Linked DNA regions of Homo sapiens: all the other regions are linked to region 2. The links are contacts of gene promoters, found by promoter capture Hi-C in blood cells and fetal thymus (Javierre and others, 2016). All regions are on one chromosome and are shown on one strand. The core of a region is centred on a gene start or on the middle of the fragment in contact, and the rest is flanking DNA. Distances in the headings are between cores, read along the strand shown.

What was found. The method cuts DNA at HindIII sites, captures the fragments that hold promoters and counts their contacts. A CHiCAGO score of 5 or more calls a contact.
Region 1: a fragment that was not itself captured here is called in contact with the fragment with the promoter of VPS13C in region 2 in 1 of 17 cell types (fetal thymus); the score reaches 5.5 in fetal thymus.
Region 3: a fragment that was not itself captured here is called in contact with the fragment with the promoter of VPS13C in region 2 in 1 of 17 cell types (fetal thymus); the score reaches 9.3 in fetal thymus.

Annotation. Positions count from the first base shown.
Region 1 is chr15:60,588,343-60,591,583 of GRCh38, forward strand. All of the region lies in intron 2 of RORA (RAR related orphan receptor A), which reads right to left. All of the region lies in intron 3 of RORA-AS1 (RORA antisense RNA 1), which reads left to right. Among named protein-coding and RNA genes, the nearest start is that of RORA-AS2, 92 kb to the right of the region's middle. The HindIII fragment of the contact is 6,493 bases long and covers 1-3,241 here.
Region 2 is chr15:62,058,836-62,061,742 of GRCh38, forward strand. VPS13C (vacuolar protein sorting 13 homolog C) reads right to left here and starts at 1,612. Exons shown (of 85, transcript NM_020821.3): 1 at 1,440-1,612. The coding sequence starts at 1,539. It overlaps VPS13C-DT (VPS13C divergent transcript), which reads left to right and starts at 1,668. Exons shown (of 2, transcript NR_135690.1): 1 at 1,668-2,008; 2 at 2,133-2,907. RefSeq lists a silencer at 1,474-1,823 and an enhancer at 1,874-1,923. The HindIII fragment of the contact is 3,439 bases long and covers 599-2,907 here.
Region 3 is chr15:60,480,024-60,483,053 of GRCh38, forward strand. All of the region lies in intron 1 of RORA-AS1 (RORA antisense RNA 1), which reads left to right. Among named protein-coding and RNA genes, the nearest start is that of RORA-AS1, 2.4 kb to the left of the region's middle. The HindIII fragment of the contact is 1,439 bases long and covers 1,011-2,449 here.

The DNA of each region.
Region 1 (3,241 bases), core at 672-3,171, 1.5 Mb before region 2:
GTATTCTTAGGAAATTTGTTCCACATAAGGGGTTTTGTTGATCCCTATAATAATTTAAGAGATTTTTAAGAAAACTGAACCCTACATCTACCTCTGCAAATCTATTCATCCATCCATCCATCCATCCATCCATCCATCCAGTAACTTTTCTCCAGTAAGTGGCCATTTATAAATATTATTTTCCTAGATACCCCAGAGCAAATAAGAAAGTGGTTGGGTGCTATTGTAGGTGCTTTGCAATTATCACCTTGCTGATCTCATCCACTTTTATTGTGTCTCACTTGAGTGGGAGGGAAAGATAGGAGAAAAAGGAGACTAATGAGAATTATTAATATATTTACAAGTGTATCTACTACATATTAAAGAGCTAAGGTTTAGATGACATACTGTATATTTCTAAATGACTATTTCTGTTTAGAAATTACATTATTTCATGACTGGGCAGCATTAAATAAATTATATGGTTCTCAATTCAAATCGTGGGCAAAAGGGTTTACTTGTGCATGCTGCTGCTTTGTATCTCAAGTAACGTGATTGAAATATATAAAATCAAGAGGCTGCCCATGAAAATGGTGCTTTTAAAATACTCTCTACTTCATGGAGGGTCCAGGCTTCTCCCTCCTCCCATGGACAAATGGATTCAGAAATCCTCTTTGTCTTTAAAAGAACTGATCCCTTCTTGCCAGATAAGCATTCTGCTCAGTAGTGGCAACCATTTGGGTTTTCTCTTTTCAAGATCCAGCCATCACCTTCTCCCAATCCTTCCCATCACAAGTAACAAAAATGGTACAAAAATCCCAGTGAAGGGATACCAGGCAATGGGTCCTTACAGTGAGATCAGAGATCGAATTCTAATTTCATTTCGTAGAAAGAAAGGCCAAGTTCTTCAAAACTACAGAATCGTATTTATTACAGTTGGACATACTACCAACACATACAGTATTTTCAAAGTGGTGAGGAGTCTTGCATTTGCACATGAATCAGGCCGGACGAAGAATCTACGGGCCAGAAATTCCCTTTAAGCCTCCCTGTGCTCTTATAACTCCATTTGCACAAACACAGGCTGAGCACTCATATGAAGCAAAGGGGTATATCATCTACTGAAACTGATGAACGTCTTACATTTCCTTTCAGTACTCCGCTGCCGCGTGACATCTGGCCAATGCACTTTTATGATGAGCAGAACAAGTGCTCCCCCGATTATAAATGTTATAGCTGGCTCTCTCCCTTTGCCCAAGAAGCAATCCAAATGGTATTGGAATTTTGTTGTTAATTAAACAAAAGCAAAATTGAAGGATGAGACTAGAGTTACTCAAATGAAGATTTATTACATTTGAGCATGAAACTAAGCCTAAACTTATTTGACAACTAATGCAGAGGAAGGATTTTCTTCTTTGGTGAGTTCAAAGGGCCTGATTTACTGATGTTTAAAAAACATCAGTAAATCAGCCAACAAAGAGAATCTTTCTTTTATGGTGGCTTGTTCTCTCCTCCCTTGTCCACATGCATCCACATACCAAAAAGCTATATTGTAAACAGTATTTCTGTTTTGCACGAAAAATCTAGTTATACAAACTGTCTTACACATGGAACCAATTTAACTATTAAAACTGAGAAGCAATAGGGAAGTATTTAATAAGATTCTAAGCCAGTTTTTTCCTCTAAATCTGATATGGAAACATTTACAGCATTCCTCACTTCCCCACAAACTATTTTCTCTTTCAGCTTAAGTTTGCACCAAAGCAAGATAATCCCATTAAAATTCAGGATATTATGATATTGGGAGTGAAATATTCTAATTGTTCAGATGCATTCTCTCTCCCTCTTCCTCTATCTCTCTCTCTCTCTCTCTCTCTCTTTCAGGCAGCTGAGTTTATAGAAAAATTGCATTGCCAGTACTTCTGAGGCACTTTTTTCAAAGCACAATACTATGAAACTATTATTTTATGGCAGACAGAGGTCACTCCAAGTGTGGGGGTAGCGTGTGTGATTCTTATTATTCTATTAGCAAGGGACAGTATGGAACTTCACTTTGTAGAATTACAAAAGCAAAAGCCTATGTACTAGGAAACATCAACTTTAAATCAAAATATTAAAACGTACTTTCCTTTTTTTTGGTGGGTCGTTACTGTTCATTAGGGGAGAAAGCAGTTTAAAATGTCTCAGCCTCTCGCCTTTCCTCCAATCAACACAAAGTATATTAGACAAAGTGGATAAAGACTGGCATTGACATCTTCCAAATAGCAAAATCAATTTTATAATTTAAAGACAAAAAATGCTTTAACTGCAGAGGGCATTTAAGACGTTTCACACTTACAGGGCTAATGAAATGCAGGACTAGCATAAAAGTTTTTTGGGGGGGTGGGGGAGAATAGATTTTTTAACATAAGAAGTCGATAAGAAATCTTAATAATTTTTCCTCCCAAATAATTTTAAGTGCTTAAGAGCGCGGATCACGGGAGGTTTCCTCTCTTTTACTTATATGAATTACATATTCTAAAAATGATTAAATCCCATTCCCCTCAAGCCACAGGGGAAAAGAGAAAATTTGCTGTGGGCACATTATATAGAAAGATTTCATCTCAAGCAGCTCATCTTAACGTCCAGTACGTTTCGGCCTGTTAATAATTAATAAAAGAGATGCCACCCAATCTCTAGTGAAGAAAGGCAAAGCTCGGTGATCCGAAAGTAAACCCAGCGCAGATACCGAACTGGTGTCCTTCATTCCAGATTGCAACACAACCCCAAACTAGCAAACGTTTAACAGGCGCTTGGCACCCGCACCGGTGGCTAGGACCCGCAGGACAGTCTGGGTCTGCACAATTGCTGCGCATTAGGGAAGCCGCGTCCGCCGCAAACAGATGGGGCTCTAAATCCCCAAGCCTGGCGGCCGGGCCTGCGAAGCAGCTCGGGCAGATTATCCACGGCGAGGAACCTGCGGGCGCACAAGCGGGCGGCGGGCGGCGGGCGGCGTGCTGCGGGCTGAGTTTCTCCGGAGCTGTTTGCAACCGTCCCAAGAGCGAGTCTCGGTTTCTCCGGCAGCACGGGCGACTTCCTGAACACCTCCAAACTTTAGCTTTCCCATCAGAAAGTTCCCTGACTTGCCACGGTTTCTCTCCTTCTCACCTGAGAGGACCTAGAGCCAGTCCTCCCTCCAACCAAATCCCCCTCCCCTCCCGCCCCCGGCCCGGCTACGGAGTCCTGATGAGGGCGGAAGGCCGGGCCGCCCGGCAGGATTGGC
Region 2 (2,907 bases), core at 362-2,861:
CAGCCCAGGAGTTGGAGGCTGCAATGAGCTACGATCTTGCCACTGCACTCCAGCCTTGGCAACAGAGCAAGTCCTTGTCTCAAAAAGACAAGCCAAAAAAAAAAAACAACAACAACAACAACCAGGCTCTTCCGTAATTCAGGGTATAAACAGCATTGCCCAATATATGTTCCATATACGTAATTATAAATTTTAGAAGCCAAGTTTAAAAAGAAAAAAAGTAAAACTAAAAAACACGGGAAATACACTTTAATATTATATTTAATTTAACCCAATATATTCAAATATTATTTCAACACATAAGCAACATAAAAATTATTGAGGTATTATTTTTTTCTCCTACTTCATTAGGAGTAATGCTTATTCAAAACGATGTTTTAATTCATACAGCAAGTCTCAATTAGCACTAACCTCATATCAAGTGCTCCACAGCTACAGTGGCTAGTGGTTACCCTAGTGGACAGGGGAAGTCTATAGCTATTTGTTGTTGCTTGAATTAAAAGCAGATCCATACATTTGAGTCGTTTTTTGAATTTTCCTCCAAAGCTGACAAAGTTCCCAAACCTTTTGTGGAGTGAGAAAGTCCCAAAGTCCTCAAAGCTTAACACGTAATTCATGCAAACGATTAAGCTCGTTGAAGAGTGTATGTTTAAGTACACTATTTCCTGAATACTTTTATACACTTAATCTCCAGGATAAAAACGTTGGCATAAATTCCTGAGCATGCAACCAAGCAGACACCTAATTAATGACGATGCTGGTCGAGGCTTGAATTTCTCTCTATTGCTCCAAAACAAAATTCAAAATCCTCTTCGTATTGACGGAAAAGTAAATATTAAAGGAAGAAATCATTTTCACAGGAGCTGAAAGCATTAAGAGTAAGAATCCCTAAGCACACGCCTATCTTAAAGATCTCCTGCCCGTTCCTCTCCAAACCCGGTAATCCTAAAGAGAAGGAACCCAGTTCTTGCTCCCTGTAAAATGATAGTGAAGATAACTGCGAGATGCAACTTCCTCCTTTTTTCTTAGTGCCACTTCGAGCGTATATGACCAGACAACCATGCTCACTCCACGCGATACCGAAACAGAAAGGGCTCTGTTTTTATGCTGTAGGGCCAAAGGGGCCACCCTGAGTGCAGCGAGAGGACCACAGAAACGGGCAGGGCGGGGACAGCAGGGCCAGGGCTTGGCCTCGGGGGACGAGAAAGGTGGGAACTTTGGCAGCGCGGGCGGGATCCCGCCGCATCTCCCCAGCCGGAGTCGGGACTGGGACCCCGAGAATCCGCGGGCGGCAGAGGCTCCCGCATCTAGCACCTGCCGCACCGGGATGGGGAGTCTCAGGCGGCGCAGGGAGCAGGGCCCGGGCAGAATCCCGGACGGAGCAGCCCTCGGCTGGGCCCTCAGCGCCCGCAGCCCACTGGCCGCGCCCTCTCGCTTACCGCCCCAGATGCCCAGCTTCAGCTGGGACTTGTTCAGGTTCTCCACATAGTCCCCCAGGAAGCGGTTCAGCAAGTCCGCGACCACCGACTCCAGCACCATGGTGGCGCTGAGGCACAAGGAGAGGGAGGAGCCGGAACCGCCCGGCGCAGCTGAGGGCTGCGACCAGCGCTGCAAATGACAGCCCCTCCGGCGCAGGCCCACCCCCGCGCCGCGCGCGTGACCCCGCCGGTGCGCAGGCGCGCTGTCGCCCGGCCGGTAGCTAAGGAGGCCCAGCTGTGATCCCGAGGCTTTGTAGGCGCCGCAGCCCTGGCCCTCTAGAGGCCGACGGAGGAGTGCGGGGGAAGTTAGCTTGCGCCTGTCTCGTCAGCCGTGCACGAGAAAAAAAAGGACCTTCGAGAAGAACAAGGGAGGGCAAGAGTTACCGAGTACAGGGACATCTATGTGGCCGCTCTGCTTTCCCGCCGTCACCTGCTGTTGAACTCCGGCCGCATCGCGGTGTCCGGAGCCGCCTGGCCTGGAGTATGCGCTGAGCGTCACCTAGGCAACCACCCCTGCACCTGTGGATCAGGTGGGGGAAAGGGACCGACCGCGTTCTTGTCCTGCTAGAGTTCGACTCCGCCTGGGGCTTGGTCTCTGCTTCTTGAAAACATTGTTTTTTTATTTTGTTTCTGTTTTGTTTTGTTTTGAGACAGGGTCTCGCTCTGTTGCCAAGGGTAGAATGCAGTGTCGGGATCATAGCTCACTACAGACTTGACATCCTGGACTCAAGAGATCCTCCTGTGTCAGCCTCCCGAGTAGCTGGGACCACTGGCGCGCGACAAATAATTTGAAAGTGGGAGGAGGGGAACAGAACCACATCAAATGGCAGATATCATAGAATGAGAACTGAATATACGCGTTTTGTGGGAAACGCGTTCTTTTCCCCTTTCTCTAAGATTCGCTTTTAATTCACTAGCCACTAACCAGTTACCTATCTCATTACAGATATAAAAAACAAAACGTAGTAGTGCCTTTTTAAGTATGAGTTACTTGTTATTTATATATCACTTTCTTCCATGCTATCGTTGAACTGTCTTTGATGTAGCACGACCTTAAAAGCAGAGCTTTTATACCACAAGATCTTTCAACCCTTGTGAAATTTAACCACCCATTGAGATTCACCTCTTTAGAGAACTAGAAATTTTTTCCTAAAATATATTTCAAAAAGTTGTTGAGATACAGTACACAGGAAGAAACCTAAGAAATGCTGATTATTTGTAGTCACAAGCATTAATAAGTGCTTTGCTACGAGGAAGTGTCTGAGAAACTATTCGTGTATTTTTCTTAAACAACCTAGGCTTGCACAGGATCACAAAGAAAAATCTTAAATTCAAAGTCCGCTGGAGAAGAAAGAAAATCAAAATGGCTACAATTGGTGTTGTGTATTAAATAAAATTAAAAGTACAAAGAAAGACCCAGTCAGTACTA
Region 3 (3,030 bases), core at 480-2,979, 1.6 Mb before region 2:
TGGAATCAGGCAACACTTCATTCCATAAAATGGAATGAGTGTCCCAATGAGTGGAACAGAGGAGGTTGGCATTACGGACAGAAAAAAGGTCTGTAGAAAGTAGAAACAAAGAACAAAAAGCAGATTGATCATTTCAAAGTTACTTTCCTGGTAAGGTGGAGACAGACAGTACAATAGAAAGATAACTGATTGGTTAACATCAGGTTACTTCAAGTTACTCTTTGCTGTAGGGACTAAAACAGAGGAAATTCATTATCTTGCTGATTGAAAATTGAAACTGGCCTGTTACCTCTGTCTCCTGATTTCTTGGAGGGCCACATAACTCAGTTTCGGTGTGGTGAGCCTGAGTGATACCATTTTTATTTTAGTCTGGTCTCTTGGGGTCTAGTGCAGAAGTTCTAAACAATGGCCTCCTATAATTTTTTTTAATACAAGGAACTGCATAAACTTATTGCATAAACAGAATCTAGTGTGTGCTATTAGGGAAGCATGTTCTACATTTTATTTTAAGACAGAGTCTCCCAGACTGGAGTGCAGTGGTGTGATCTCAGCTCACTGCAACTTCTGCCACCTGGGTTCAAGCGATTCTCCTGCGTCAGTCTCCCTAGTAGCTGGGACTACAAGTGCATGCCACCACACTTGGCTAATTTTTGTATTTTTTTTTTAGTAGAGATGGGGTTTGCCAGGGTGATCTTTAACTCTTGACCTCAAGTGATCTGCCCACCTTGGCCTCCCTAAGTGCTGGGATTACAGGTGTGAGCCACTACCCCTGGCTGACATTTTAGACTGATTTAGAATATTGTTAGAAATTATGTTAATGTAAAAAATATGCTACAGGAAACCATAGGTAGTTTATTTTGCCTGGAATGCAAGGTCTCTGAAGAGTAGTAGAGGAAAAGGGGTTGGAAAAACTGGTTGAAGCTAGAACACGTAAGATTTTATAAGCCAGACTAAGGAAGTTTGACTTTATTGCATAAGAAATAAAATGCTAGGAAACAAACAAACAAAAAAGCTTACATAATGACACAATCAGAACTGGCTGGCTGTGCTTCAGGAAAGTTCACCTGGCAACCTACGGAATTCATTGAAGGGAGGAGGCCAGTTAGGAGACAGTGTTTGTGAATGCTTAAAAAAATCAACCACTACAATGCCTGGCACTGTGCAGATAGCATTTCTTTTTTTCTTTTTCTTTTTTCTTTTCTTTTCTTTTTTTTTTTTTTTTTGAGATGGAGTCTCCCTCTGTCGCCCAGGCTGGAGTATAGTGGGGCGATCTTGGCTCACTGCAACCTCTGCCTCTCGGGTTCAAGCGATTCTCCTGCCTCAGCCTCCTGAGTAGCTGGGATAACAGGTGCATACCACCACGCCCGGCTAATTTTTGTATTTTTAGTAGAGACAGGGTTTCACCATGTTGGTTAGGCTGGTCTTGAACTCCTGATCTCGTGATCCGCCCACCTCGGCCTCCCAAAATGCTGGGATTACAGGCGTGAGCCACCATGCCTGGCTGCAGATAGTATTTCTTATTAGGTAAGTGATGTGGATGGCTTGTGTAGGACAAAGGCAGCGTAAAAGTTCATGTGTTGGGTACTGTCTCACAAAGCATGCAGTCAGGAAGAGTTGGGGACACCTGACCTGGCCTGAAGGAACTGCTCTAATTGTTTAAGAGCTCATGCTGCTGGGAGGTACCTGCCCATGGTAGTGTGATATGGTAGCATTACCATACAGCTCTGTGTTGAGATTTCAGATCATCACCAAACAGTATGCTCTGAACTGGTATATCTGAGTTTCAATGGTTGCAAGATAGCACACAGAATCAGAATTTTTAGAATCAGAACACGATTTGGAGATTATCTAGTCCAACCCTCTTGTTTTCCTTACAAGGAAATGGGCTCGTTTCAAGATTGTCAAGTGACTTTTCCAACATCACATGATCAATGATAAAACTGATACTAAAACTCAGGTCTCATAATTCTTGCCAACGTGTGCATTGTGCATCTTCCCAAAATTCATATCTTATATGAATATGTAATTCATATGTCATATTATAGGAGCCTAATGGCCTCCTATAATTTTTGTTTACTACAAGGAATCCTAATGGTATTTGGAGGTGGTATCTTTAGGAGGTAAGTAGGTTTAGATTAAGACACAAGGGTGCAGCCCCAATGATGGAGTTCATGCCCTTGTCAGAAGAAGAGAAACCACAGCTCATTCTCTCCCCCAAGTGAAGACACAGCAAAAAGGTAGCCATCTGCAAGCTAGAAACAGAGTTCTCACCAGGAACCAAATTGGCTGGCAGCTGGATCTGGACTTCCAAGCCTCCAGAACTGTAAGAAAATAAATGTCTCTTGTTTAAGCCTCCCAGGCTATGGAATTGTCATAGCAGCCCCAGCGGAGTAACATAAAATACAATAAATATATGCATCCTTTCTTTTCTGTTTTGTGAACCACAAGAAGCTTAGTGGCAAGAACATGGACTTCTGGATTCCAGTAGTTATCTGTCTCAGGTTGGCATCTCAGTTTTTCTGTCTACTGGCACTGTGATCCTAGGCATGTCGTGTGTCCTCTTGAGTCTCAGTTTCTTCATCTGGATAATGGAGGCAGTGATACCTCACCTACAGAATTGTTGTGAGGACTAGAAGTAATATATATATAAAGTGCATTGCAAAGAGTAAATGTTCAACAAATACTAGCTATTAGTATATAATTTTTCTGAAAGAAAAATCAAAGATGAACAAAACACAGTGGAGATGGCACTGTACAAAGACCTATAATGCAAAGAAGAAATGGTGGGCCGGCCGCGGTGCCTCACGCCTGTAATCCCAGCACTTTGGGAGGCTGAGGTGGGTGGATCACCTGAGGTTGGGAGTTCGAGACCAGCCTGACCAACATGGAGAAACCCCGTGTCTACTAAAAATACAAAATTAGTCTGACGTGGTGGTGCATGCCTGTAATCCCAGCTACTTGGGAGGCTGAGGCAGGAGAATCGCTTGAACCCGGGAGGCATTGGTTGCACTGAGCCGAGATTGCGCCATT